Regions from separate parts of the Homo sapiens genome. Here regions 1, 2 and 4 are each linked to region 3. The links are contacts of gene promoters, found by promoter capture Hi-C in human tissues and cell types (Jung and others, 2019). All regions are on one chromosome and are shown on one strand. The core of a region is centred on a gene start or on the middle of the fragment in contact, and the rest is flanking DNA. Distances in the headings are between cores, read along the strand shown. Region 1 overlaps ZC3H6 (zinc finger CCCH-type containing 6). Region 2 overlaps ZC3H6 (zinc finger CCCH-type containing 6). Region 3 holds the start of MERTK (MER proto-oncogene, tyrosine kinase). Region 4 overlaps ZC3H6 (zinc finger CCCH-type containing 6).

What was found. Contacts are between HindIII fragments. The study calls those that stand out against the background at their distance.
Region 1: a fragment that was not itself captured here is called in contact with the fragment with the promoter of MERTK in region 3 in 2 of the 25 tissues and cell types used here (aorta and dorsolateral prefrontal cortex).
Region 2: a fragment that was not itself captured here is called in contact with the fragment with the promoter of MERTK in region 3 in 1 of the 25 tissues and cell types used here (liver).
Region 4: a fragment that was not itself captured here is called in contact with the fragment with the promoter of MERTK in region 3 in 1 of the 25 tissues and cell types used here (lymphoblastoid cells).

Annotation. Positions count from the first base shown.
Region 1 is chr2:112,295,235-112,298,375 of GRCh38, reverse strand. All of the region lies in intron 1 of ZC3H6 (zinc finger CCCH-type containing 6), which reads right to left. Among named protein-coding and RNA genes, the nearest start is that of ZC3H6, 21 kb to the right of the region's middle. The HindIII fragment of the contact is 3,332 bases long and covers 210-3,141 here.
Region 2 is chr2:112,313,666-112,316,907 of GRCh38, reverse strand. ZC3H6 (zinc finger CCCH-type containing 6) reads right to left here. Exons shown (of 12, transcript NM_198581.3): 6 at 322-438. Among named protein-coding and RNA genes, the nearest start is that of ZC3H6, 40 kb to the right of the region's middle. The HindIII fragment of the contact is 4,981 bases long and covers 1-3,242 here.
Region 3 is chr2:111,897,357-111,900,734 of GRCh38, reverse strand. MERTK (MER proto-oncogene, tyrosine kinase) reads right to left here and starts at 2,128. Exons shown (of 19, transcript NM_006343.3): 1 at 1,939-2,128. The coding sequence starts at 1,999. RefSeq lists an enhancer at 2,660-2,989. The HindIII fragment of the contact is 10,682 bases long and covers 1-3,378 here.
Region 4 is chr2:112,332,013-112,334,995 of GRCh38, reverse strand. It overlaps ZC3H6 (zinc finger CCCH-type containing 6), which reads right to left. Exons shown (of 12, transcript NM_198581.3): 12 at 1-2,983. The coding sequence ends at 2,508. Among named protein-coding and RNA genes, the nearest start is that of ZC3H6, 58 kb to the right of the region's middle. The HindIII fragment of the contact is 5,053 bases long and covers 1-2,983 here.

The sequences.
Region 1 (3,141 bases), core at 626-3,125, 400 kb before region 3:
TAGGTCTAAAATTTTACTTTCTTTGATGACTAGTGAAGTTGAATTTTCCCTGCCTGTTATATTGCTTGCATACTTTGCCTGTTTGTGTCACCGTCCTTCTTTTGGATTGGGGTCATACTATTTTTTTAAACTTATCTGTGTAAAACATTTTATTCAAAACTAGTACTGTTGGTCATATTTAATACAAATGTTTTTCATAATCTGAAAAAAATAAATTTTTTAAAAAGCAATATATCTATCTATATGTATATATATATTTTTTGAGACAGGGTCTCACTCTGTCACCCAGACTGCAGTGCAGTGGCACGATCTCAGCTCACTGCAACCTCCACCTCCCAGGTTCAAGCGATTCTCGTGCCTCAGCCTCCGAGTAGCTGGGATTACAGGCACACGCCATCACATCCGACTAATTTTTGTATTTTTACGGAGATGGGGGTTTCACCACGTTGGCCAGACTGGTCTCAAACTCCTGACCTCAAGTGATCTGCCTGCCTTGGCCTCCCAAAATACCGGGATTACAGGTGCAAGCCACCGTGCCCAGCCAGTCAATATTAATTCTTACCAACAAACACTAAGTAAACAAACAAACAAAAAACCAAATTTTCATACACAGATAGTAACAAAACTCAAGCCACAAAACAATTCCTCAACTTGAATCTGTAAAAAAGATTCATAGTAGAACTATAAATCTAATTTCTTTCCAAATACTAGTATCTTTGCTATTATGGAGGCTGAATCCTAGAAACAAACTGACTTTTATATTGATTATGACATTTTATAGATAGAAACCAAAATATTCATTAATAGTATTTTAAAATGCAAATAAACCAACCGATACACATGGAAAGATGAATACATAAAACAATTTTAACATTTAATCATACTTCCAAAACACTATAGTTTGAAAAAGTGCAAACTACTACAAATAGTACATGCAGAAAGGTAACTGTCTATGTATAAATGGCAGCAAATGAAAAACAACTAAACTATGGTGTGGGCATTTTAAAGGTAATTTAGAATTACCAGGTATGTGTAATTTCTTAAATACAAAACTGATCATGTCACTCTCCTGCCATAAATCTTCAATGATATGATATGATATATCTCAAATCTGCTTCAAAATAATCCACTACGGATAGTGGACGTGGTCTTAATAAGATTGGCCATGAGTTGGTAACTGCTGAAACTGGGATGTGTATACGAGGATTCATTCTATTCTTTTTGAGGTGTTCTATAATAAAAAGATAATCTTCAATGGTTCCCTCTGCTCACCCAGCTACTTTCAATTTCTCAAGTCTACAAGCCTTAAAAAGTGCCTAAAATCTCTCAATGCCCAGCTCATGTCACCAGCCTCACCACACCTCTTTCACCTGGCTAATTCCAATTCAGTATTTCGGATGCAGTTTAGATGTCATTTCCTACAAGATGTCTCCCATTACTACCCAGATTTAGGTGAGATGCTTCATTCTAAGTACTCCTCTGCTAGTTCTCATTTCTCTTATCATTGCACTCTGTACATTATGTCAAATGACTTGTTTGTTCATTGGTGAAAGCAGGGTGTATGACTGTCTTTTACAGAGGTATCTCTAGCACCTAGCATGGCACCTTGCTATTTACTGAATCCCTGAATGTATAATACCCATAACTCTTGCATCATAGAAGAGGCATATGATACGACCCTAAAGTGGCTGTAAAGTCACTGGAATTTTCCCCAGCTTCTACTATAAAATCAGAGAGGTAATATTCACTTAGACTTGAAAATTGCTTATGAGGCAGTCTTGGCATTCTGGCTATTTCAATTAAAATGTTTTGAACTTTTATAAACTACAAAACCTTACAATCCGAGAAAATGAGTGCACATATTCACCAAAAGACAAGTATAAGAATGTTTTTGACAGCTGTAGTCATAATAGTAAAAAATTATAAATAACAAATCTCTATCAACAGGCAAATAGATATATAAATTATGCTTTATTTATATCATAGAATACTACAAAGAAAAAATTAACAACTGCTACAAAAAAACAATATAGAGGAATCTTATAGACATAATGAGGAGTGAAAGAAGCCAGACACAAGACAGTACTGTATGATTTCATGTATATGCACTTTGAAAACAGACAAACCAATATATAACAGAAGTCAGAATAGTGATTACCTCTTGCACGAGTGCAAGTGACAAAAAAAGGGGTATTAAGGAAACTTCTGAGGTACTGAAATATTCTGTATATTAATCTGTGTGATTACTATATATACATTATACACATTTGTAAAAACCCATCAAGTTATACATTTAAGTATTGTGTACTTTGCTATCTACATTTATACCACAATAAAATTTAAAACACAAATGACAAAAAAAATCTATAAGTGTTTATCCTTTCTTTTACTGCGCCTCTCCTTCAACGTGAGCTCCTTAAAGCATAAAAAAAATTACATCTGGAAATCACTGCTTCATATTTAGCATTTTAACTAGAGCTATTTAAAAACAAAGTAAACATGCTAAAAATGCCCATAAACTCATGTCCTACTTTACATACATTATTTAAGTGTGAAATGTGGGTCATTTATATTTGTTACGAGATATAAAACACTGCAAGCTTTTAAAATTTTTTTTAGTTTCCCTTAGCCTACTTATCATTTCAGCATTCATATAATAGCAGATTTAAACTTGTATATTTTTGTATGGCTACAAAAAATGCGAGAGAAAGAGGAAATAGAGAAAAATAATTCACACTATGAACTGCTTCCAAACCCTTTGAAATGTCAGCTTTGGACGCATGTGGAAAGCATGTGTGGTATAATGGAAAGAGAAGGAGACTCCATGGGAGGAAAGCTGGATTCTAATTCCAGCTCTATCACCAAAATAAAATAAAGCTTTCTTAATTGAACACCTAGTAATGTATCAGATACTAACCTAGTGATCTTGGGAAATACCTAGAAGAGGTAATAGAAATAATTAAGAGTTCTTATCATTCTCTAGATTTTGAACTAGCTTAATACTATTATATAAGAGCTGTTTTGTTTACTAAACACAAGACTTTAAAAAATGTAATACATCAAATAGATAAGTTCCTCAGTCAATTAATTATATATGTGACGTTTTATTAATATAAACACAATAGACTGATTATGTCCTTT
Region 2 (3,242 bases), core at 30-2,529, 420 kb before region 3:
AAAATGGGGATAATAACATTAACTACTTTGTAGGGTCACTGTAGGATTAAATCATTTAATATTAGTTGTACTTTGAACAGTACTTGCCACGTAGCATTATGTGTCTTTTAAACAAATCCGATTTCAACAAATTATGTTATTGTCCCAGAACATAATTAAATGAGCTCTAATGTACGGTATTTCCATGCAAGATACATTTTAAAGACCCAGTTTTATTACAACTATATGAGAAGAGAAAAAAATTAACCATCCCCCAAAAGACTTTAATTTTAAAGATTATTTTGGAAGTTAAAATGACTTATGATACCTCTATAAATTTACCTTAATACACCTCCCTTCCAGGAAGTATTTACAGATTTGTTTTCCTTTGTGTTCCACTGTGTGCTGATTAATAAATTCCTGAGTCATAACCTTCCATTTTTTCCCTGGTTTATTATACTGCAAGAAAAAAATTCCATTTGAATGCAGCATATGAAATATTAATAGGTATCAAAATGTATGATTAAGTTGATCTGGAAAAAAGTACAAATTGACTACAAAAAGTGATCAAGATTGAACATTCTGATGCTATTCATTTATTTGGAGAGAGATATGTGTCTAGTAATCTACTTATGCTACTAGTGATCGCAAAAAAAAGCCTATTTCTTTCTATTTTAATGAAGATGAATAACTTTTTAAATAAAATTATAAAAAGTTTAAAAATTCACAATTCTCAATTTGGGCAAAGACACAATAAAATATGCACTCATATTATTGATAGGTATGTTATAAAAGACTTTAAAATATCCATATTGTTTGACATACAACTTGTACTTTTTGGGATTATTTTGAAAGAATTATCAGGGAGACACAAAGATCTAGTCATATAATAAAATACTGACATAGTAAAACAAACAGCAAAACGAGAAACACTCTACACATTTAAAACTAGAAGACTGGTCAAATATATTATGATACACTTAGGTGGTAGAATATTATGCAGTCATTAAAAAATCAACAACTTTGGATCATAAAAACTGTTTACAGATCAGGCATGGTGGCTCATGCCTGTAATCCCAGCACTTTGGGATCATTTGAGGCCAGGAGTTTGAGACCAGCCTGGCCAACATAGTGAAATCCTGTCCATACTAAAAATACAAAAAATTAGCCAGGTGTGGTGGCACACACCTCTGTAATCTCAGCTACTTGGGAGGCTGAGGCACGAGAATCGCTTGAACCTGGGAGGTGGAGCCTGCAGTGAGAGCCAAGATCACGCCACTGCATTCCTGCCTGGGCAACAGAGTGAGAGTGTCTCAAACAAACAAACAAAAAAAAAACAAAAAAAAAGTTTACAATATTTTATGAAGTAAAAAATTGATCCCAATTCTACAATAATAAATAAAGGCAAAGGAAAAAAGACAAAAAGAATATACCCCCATATTTTACAGTGTATGTCTCTGGATGGCAGGATTAGAGATTTTATGTGTGTGGTTATTTTGTACTTTCTTTAGGGGAAAAAAAGGGCAAACAAACAGGCGGCGTGTATTACTTTTAACTTTTAAATATAAAAAGTTAAGAAAAAAACTTAAGAAAATTAAAGGAAAAGAAATCTTATAGCCCTACTTGTTTTCCTTACTTCTCCTGAGTCCCCTATTCAACTTCTGCTTTAAGTATAAGATTAAGTAACAAGGCAGAGTATGATGCTTAGCCATGCTAAATGTAATGAGTTACATTCATCAACTCTAAAAAACAACATTATTTTTCATGCACCTGGCATGCACTGTGCCCTGTATATCATAGGAGTTCAATGACTATTTACTCTTCTGATTTGATTTCTGTTTTCCCTTTTCTCTTAATTTGCTAAAAGATAGAGCATAAAGTTCAATCTACTGAAAACAAGAGATTGCCTCACAGCAAACATTGAGGCAATAGATGTCTAAATTGAAATCTGATCCCCAGCATTCACAGCTCAAATCACATTTTACTGTAAGAATTCTAAAAAAGGTACAAGAATACAAAGTAAACAGATAATCCTAGAGATTCGTTTTAAAAATATAAACATACCTAATTTACCCCAGGAAAACACAATGAAATTGCTTATAATATACTATGACAGAATCATTTAAAGTGTCTCAAATCTATATAAATTTGATTCACAAACATTTTTATGTTTAGAGATTCGTTTAGAATAAGCAGATATAAATGACCAGCTCACATAGGCATTCTATACAAAGAATCATGGCTGTTATAAAATAAAATAAACAGCCAAAGAAAGTAAATTATGCAAAAATCAATGAGCAACCTGAGGAATATAACTCTGAAATTAAAAAGTAAAAAAATTAGGTAATCACACACACACACACACCCTGAAAAATGCAACAAGTTGTACTTAGCGTTTCATTAATAACTTACTCTTTCTGTATACATTACTTCCAAATAATGTTTCATTGTTTTAATAGAGGATTGTGGTGAGGAAGTGTTTTGTTTTGTTTTTTAGTTTAGTTCCACTTAAATGAGTAGAAAGTATGTCAGTGTCCACAGCTATGGGAAACCTGACTATAATCAAGGTACTATAGAAAATCTAAAGCAACTTTAACAAATAAATTTTTAGGGCAAAATTAAGTGCCCAGAAGATATGGTGAGTTAGCAGACTGACAGAACTCAGGAATTGTGCCTTGCAACTCCTCCTATATTCTTTGCATTACAAGACAGTACTGCGAATAAAAAAAAATACAAGAATGAAGGAGAGAAAGAGGGAGAGATGGAGGGAGAAAAAAAACCAAGCTACCTACTGTACTTGGTCATTTTAAAACTTATTTACTTTAGAAGATATATTGATACAAGAGACAAGAGCATAAAATATTAATATATATCAGGTAGAGGAAATGTAAGGATCTACCAGGAAAATAATATTTATTACAAAAAAATGTAATAGGTACAGTAAATACTAAAACAATTTAAGAGTATTATGGCCAATAAAATGAAGAAGCCTTTAAAATTCAGTGAAAGTTTGCTTCTTTGTGACTACTCTTGATTTTTCAAAAAAATTATGATGAATCTGAAGGTACCCCGAATTGATTTGGCTTTGGAGACTCTCATAGTCTCTGAAAGGCCTAGGACAGAGACGGATCTATCTTGGCCACTCTGCTGTGGCCTCCATGTTCATGCTATTCTGGATGGGCCACCTGCAGACCATTCCTGAACATGAACTGCTTCCGTGGGCTCTGGCACACTCCCAGTTGTTTCTGGAATCATAAGAAATG
Region 3 (3,378 bases), core at 879-3,378:
ATAGGTAAAGTTCAAAACCAAAAGCAAAAAGTGCAAGAACGATTGGTGAAACTTTTCATTCTTCCAGCTGGGTGGATTTTAAAAGGCCTTTTTATGATTGTCTGATTAAAGTTGATTGTCAGCTACAAAAATTTGTTATTACAGCCTTTTAAAATTTTAGAAAAACAAAAGCACTCCAATTTTTAAGTATTTAACACAAAACTATTGTTCCCATTACTTTCTCCATAGTTCTCACCACATTCACTACCTCCAAGACTATTCACGGCCAGTCCTCACTAGTAGCAACAAATAACAGATTTGCAGCAGATTATGAAAAATGGGGCTGGCAGAAATGCTGAGGAATTTTTGAAGGTTTGGTGGAGGGAGGGGCAGTGGAGAACAGAACTGCTTTAGTTCTTTGCCTGGCTCTTAAAGTTTGTTTCAAATTGCTATGTTGCCCCAAATTATAAATTGCTTATGTAATTTAACGTGCAAAAAGTGGGTGCACTGTTTAAGAATTTTTCATTTGAGTAAATGAGCTTTCAAAGGAAAATCTCAAAGGAAAAACTTTTAAGTAACTTACTTGACTATAAACTGAGCTTTCCAGGTATTCCTAAAAAACATCTTTGACTGTAATAGGTGAAGGCTAGTCAAGTGCATTCTCGATCAAAAGAGAGAAAATCTACATGCTGAATGGAAATAGAAACCTTTTAGCTGAGAGAAAATACTTGGAATGTGTTTATTTAGCATTTTTCCCCTTTCTTTTTCTTTTGGGTAAAGCCTGGTAAGTTTATTCCAGCCTCCTCAAGAAGTGCATCAGCGATCAAACTTGAAATCTGTTCATCACTCACTCCCCAAATAAGCTGTTCAAGCAGAATGAAACCGGCCTTCCTTGCCTCCACGTATCAGTCCAGCATCTTGTATTAAAATGCCTGGAACAAGCCGGGCGCGGTGGCTCACGACTGTAATCCCAGAACTTTGGGAGGCCAAGGAGAGCAGATCACGAGGTCAAGAGATCGAGACCATCCTGGCCAACATGGTGAAACCCCGTCTCTACTAAAAATACAAAAATTAGCCGGACGTGGTAGCGCGCGTCTATAGTCTCAGCTACTCGGGAGGCTGAGGCAGGAGAATCGCTTGAACCCGGGAGGCGGAGCCTGCAGTGAGCCGAGATCGCGCCGCGGCACTCCAGCCTGGGCGACAGGGCGAGACTCGGTCTCAAATTAAAAAAAAAAAAGCCTGTAACAACACTTCGCTGAATCCAGATAAACGTAAACGCTGCCGAGCACTGTAAGTTCTGTTCTGCCATAACAGGAGTGAAAAGAACGCTCCCCTTTTCCCACACTCTCTGGGTGCCCCTAAAAAGGGATACTAATAATGCCCGTAAGGGCCCATTGGGAGCAGCCAGGACTGCCGTCCCCCCCTGGCCCGTCGCTCGGCCTCAGTCTATCGCGGCTCCCGGACTGCGGCTCCGACTCCCGCAGCCCGTTCGTTCGCCCCGCGCCGGTCCCTCGGGAGACCGGATCTGTGGCCCCCGGGACTCCGGCCAGAGCGGGGCCCCACCATGCAACTCTAGTGGAAAGTTCTCGTCGCATCCCAGACCAGACCTGCTACCTACGTTCCACTCGTCGGAACTTCAGGACTTGCAGCGCGCCCGGCCGAGCTCGATTTCCTCCTCTGCGGTGAAGAGGGGAGCCTGCAACGCCGACCCCGACCCGGCTTCACCACGATGCGCACCCGCAAGCCAGGCTGGGTGCCCTCGGGACGCTTGAGGCGCCGCGGTCAGTGGACGGTAGGTTCGCCTACGCCCCCTCCTCTGGCACCGCAGTGGGTGGAGGGTGTTTGCAAACTTGTCCAGCAGCCAGGCGCGCCCCTGTGGACGCGCTCCCTCCCCAGAGGCCCCTGCTTCCTCCTGGGAGCCCCCACCCCCTCGCCTGGCCCCCAGCCGGGCGCACTCACCTCTACGCCAGAGCGCGGGGAGGAAGAGGCCCAGCAGCAGCGGCAGCGGGGCCGGCCCCATCCCGGGGCTGCGGATCTGTAATTTCTCTCCGGACGGATGGACAGATGGACGTCCCGAACCTGTCCTGTCGCCGGCCAAGCGCGCCAGCGAAGCTCCCTGTCCGGGCGGCCCGGGCAGTGAGTGCCGAGTGGCGGAGCCAAGCGGCCGGCGGGAGGTGCCGAGGGCTGGAAGGGGCGGGCCGGGGGCCGAGCCGAGGCCGGCCGGGGCTGGAGGAGAGGAGCGGGCAGGGGGGCGAGTCCCGGCGGGCCCAGCAGGTTGGGGTGGGAGGGGGCGGGAGGACGAGGGGGAGGAGGGGCGTAAAGGGGAAAGGGAGGGGGTTGGAGAGAAGGGGCGGGCCGAAGGCCGCCGCTGGGCAGACGGCGGGGAAGGGGGCGGAGAGGAAGGGGAGGGGGCTGAGAGACCCGGAGGGAGCCGGAAAGAGAAGTGAAGGGGAGGGGTGGACTGGAGGTCCACAGCGGAAGGCTCTGGCCGCTGCGCGGGTCCGGGGCCCCACACGTGTGGGTGGGAGATGGGGAAGGACAGAAGGTGGGAGAGGAGTAGAGGATGCCCGAGGCAGCCCCCAGACCCAAGAGGAGGGTCCAGAGGCGCCCCCGCATTCCGGGCTTGGCTGACACAGAAAACCCTGGCCGCGCCGCTCCCAGAGGCCAAGGCCAGGGCGGCAGCGCTCCCTGCCGAGCGCTCCTCCACATCCATTCCGCTCGCCGCCGAGCGCCGCCTGGGTACCCGGCCCGAGGTGCGCGACACGGCCCTGGCGGCGAGGAGCTCACCTCCCCAGGGGGAGGGGTTCCTGGGAAAGGACGCTTTGCCGTGGCTCCGTGACGAGCCAGAGAGAGGTGACACTCAAGGAGGGAGATGAACGTGAATGACAAAGTGCAGAGCAGGAGTGGGGAGAGGGGGAACCACAGCACGTCACTCTCATGGGCCTCCACAAGGTGTGCAGGGTCCAAGAGGCAGTAGCAGAGAGTGAGTCGTAAGAGAAATGTAACTACTTACGCTAATAATGGCAACAGTAACTTAATTTATATACGTAGTTTCTTAAAGGTAACACTTTTAGAATGAATGTATTTTAATGTGGTCCCTTTAACAACATAACATAAGCCAAATCATGTCCCTCTCCTCAAATCTCCCTAAACCTATCAGTGGTTCCTGCTGTCTCTGCGTACGTAAGCCAAGGTTCTGCAGTGGTCTACGAGGTTCTACGTGACCTGGTCCCCTTTCCTCTTTGGCCTCATCTCCTTACGCCTCTTCAATTTACGTTGGTCTCGTCAAGCGGTCCCTTGACCCCTACACTGGCTGGACACTTCCCGTAGATTTGGCTACGGGAAGGAGACAGGCAGCCCAGATGGGTTTAGACAGGTTATTACTTACACCGACAGCAA
Region 4 (2,983 bases), core at 231-2,730, 430 kb before region 3:
ATAGCTAAGTTACATCTCATTGGATGAGCCTATCCATACTCTTAAGACTCAAGTTATTTCTGTTATCTCTAAATGTGTGGCTTCTAAGAACAGGAACGTAACTTACTTTTCAATCTAACAGTGCAAATCAAATTACATGGATTCTAAAAACACCAATTGACCTAAAAGAAGAGGTATTCATTGGGGGAAAATGGCTACTTATTCAATTTGTATGAGAAAATGGGAAAAAAGAAGAAAAATAAACTATGTTTACAGGATATGACAGAATATCCCATAAACTAACGTTATCACAATAAAAATGCTGCATAATAAATAAGTTATTTTAAACATAAACATTTTCATATAAAATATATTGTCAAATTTGAAACTAAGTTCAAACTTTCTTGTAAAATAGCCTCTAGAACACCAATTGAGGTAACAGGGACTCAAGAATACTGAATAAATGAACATTACATAATTTGCATTAATAACTTTTAAACCTGACTCTTTAATAAATCTTGGAATATCTCTTTTAGTTGTAAAAAAGATATTCGGTTAAGAGTTTGGATTCTATTTTGATGTTTAGCAAGCCAAATTATCTTTTTTGTATGATGCTTAAAATGTAAACAGCACTGCTTGACACAATAATTATAAACTACATGAATGAAAGATTTGCTAAAAATTTCATTTACTAAAATCAGCCATTTTTCTGATTTTATCCTGACAAAAGAGTAAATTACACCTTGGGATATATATATATGTTTTTTTTCTGTCAGTTTAATCCATTTTATTGACTTCTCAATTAACAACAAAATTCATTTGGACAGTAAATCAGAAAATACTTTCTATGGTGGCTTTAAATTACATTTTTTAACCCAAAAATGTTATCCAGAGCCATTTTAGACAACAAATGTATCTTAAGTACAAACGGTAAAAATTCACATTCCCTTCAGTAACTCTCCTTCCACTTAGAACACAATGAACTTCTTAGGTAGGCAGAGTTCTCGTTCACTTAACCACAACCCCATTTTAGCACAGAACTGCAGCAAAAAGAATTGAAGAAGTGATTAGAAAGGATATGCATTATTAATAAACCATATGCTATGTGAGTGTTAGGTTCCCACGAAATATTTTACTGTATATTTAAAAAAAAATCCCTTCTCAAGGGCACTGCTTTCATTCAAGGACTGATTTCATTACCTACTTCATTATCTTTTATAGTGAAATGCTCCTTTTCAAGTTATTAATACACATTGGAGTTGTTACCAGCAAACACTGTCCTACACCTGCAGTTCAAAATATGAGTAGCAGTCTAATACTTAGATTCAGTTATAAATTATATATGTATAAAACAAAGAGTTGCCATTATTTATATATTGTAATAAATACACAAGAATGAATACAAGTTATTTTTCATAAAATACAATTTCTAATCAATTTAGGGGATTTCCACACTATGAGGACATTAAATACTTAAAACACCAGGTAATCCCCTCTGTTACAGAATGCCAGCCGGGTGAGATCTTAAAGAGATTCTTTATTGATAGCCAAATACTGTTGACTATACTAGCAATCTGTATTTTCTTGCTATTTAAGAAAAAAATACAGAACCTAGACATTTAAAACATTATCCGTGTAATAATCACTACAGACTCTCACTGGGTCTTTAAAAATTTTGTTAAAAATCGCCAAAGTCATGATGAACACAATTAATGCAGCTACATCATTTGAAAAAGCAATATAAATTATGCTGTTAAAGACAAAAACATTGACATACATAAACATCACAATGTAACACAGCAGTAACTAATTGCTATTTCATATGAAAAATTAAATGTAAAAAGTTATGCTAGAGAACTTGGAAATTTTTCACTTTAGCAAAATGTTCTATTTATATACCTCCAACTTCTATGATACAGTATACAATAAAATACTTTAAAAAGATATGACATTCAAATGCTTCATTTACACAAATAATATTGCCAATACTAATAAAAGTGATGCCCTTAAACATGAACTGCTCTGCTAATTGTAATTTTAAAATGTTTTCTTTACTTGATTTTACATTTTAATTAGCAGGTAGCATTACATATTAATCAGTTCTGTGCTGACAAATAAGAGAGGTCCTAGTCAAAATACTGTTTCTCAAAAGTAATGTACATCATATTGCTTGAAACTAAACAACCATATAAAAAGTGGCAATCATTTATCTAAACATTGATTATGAAAGACAACTGGCATATATTCAGGCAGAGTGTTGAGTTCATGATTGTTTATTTACAATAAAAGTACTTTTACTGAAGCTAACATAAGTTTTTAGGTCAATTACTACAGTCTCTTAAAGTTATAAAAATATTATATAAAATACCACAGGCTTTAGAGGCTATAACTTCATGTGGTTCTGATACTAGCAGCTGAAAAGTGTTTATAATTTAAAAATAAATAAACTATAGAGGTAAACCAGTTACAAAACAGCAGAGGACTGAGATAGTCACAAGAGTGAAAAGAATTGCTCAGTTACACAATAGCTAACAAAATGGTGAAGCAGTTGGATCAAAAGTTTTAAAAACCTCTTTCAGAGATTTGTCATCTGTTTCTCTACCGGGATCATTATCTGGGGTCGGGCTCCCCTGTCCTGGCTGCCTTGCCTGCCTTGGATCACTGTACTGTGGCCTAATTAAGCCTGTTAATGCCTGAACAGGAAGGCTGTGCACTGCTGGGACCTGAACCTTACCAGAACTCCTGGGAACGTCCGCCTGTGGGTCAGCTGGCCCCTCAAGAGTGACTCCCACGTTTGGACTGGGTTTTTGTGGAAGGATGGCTTCTCCAGGAGAAGGTTCAGTTTTGTCACTACTTTTTAAGCCACCACTTTTTTTCTGGTTCTTTGAGTTTTCTCCTGAAGAAGCTGTTGCTAGCTCTGATGTGGATGATGAACCGTGATCCCTAGGGTCATACAAACTAATACCACTAAGAACTGAAGTGGAAGTTCCCAGTGGAAGGCCAG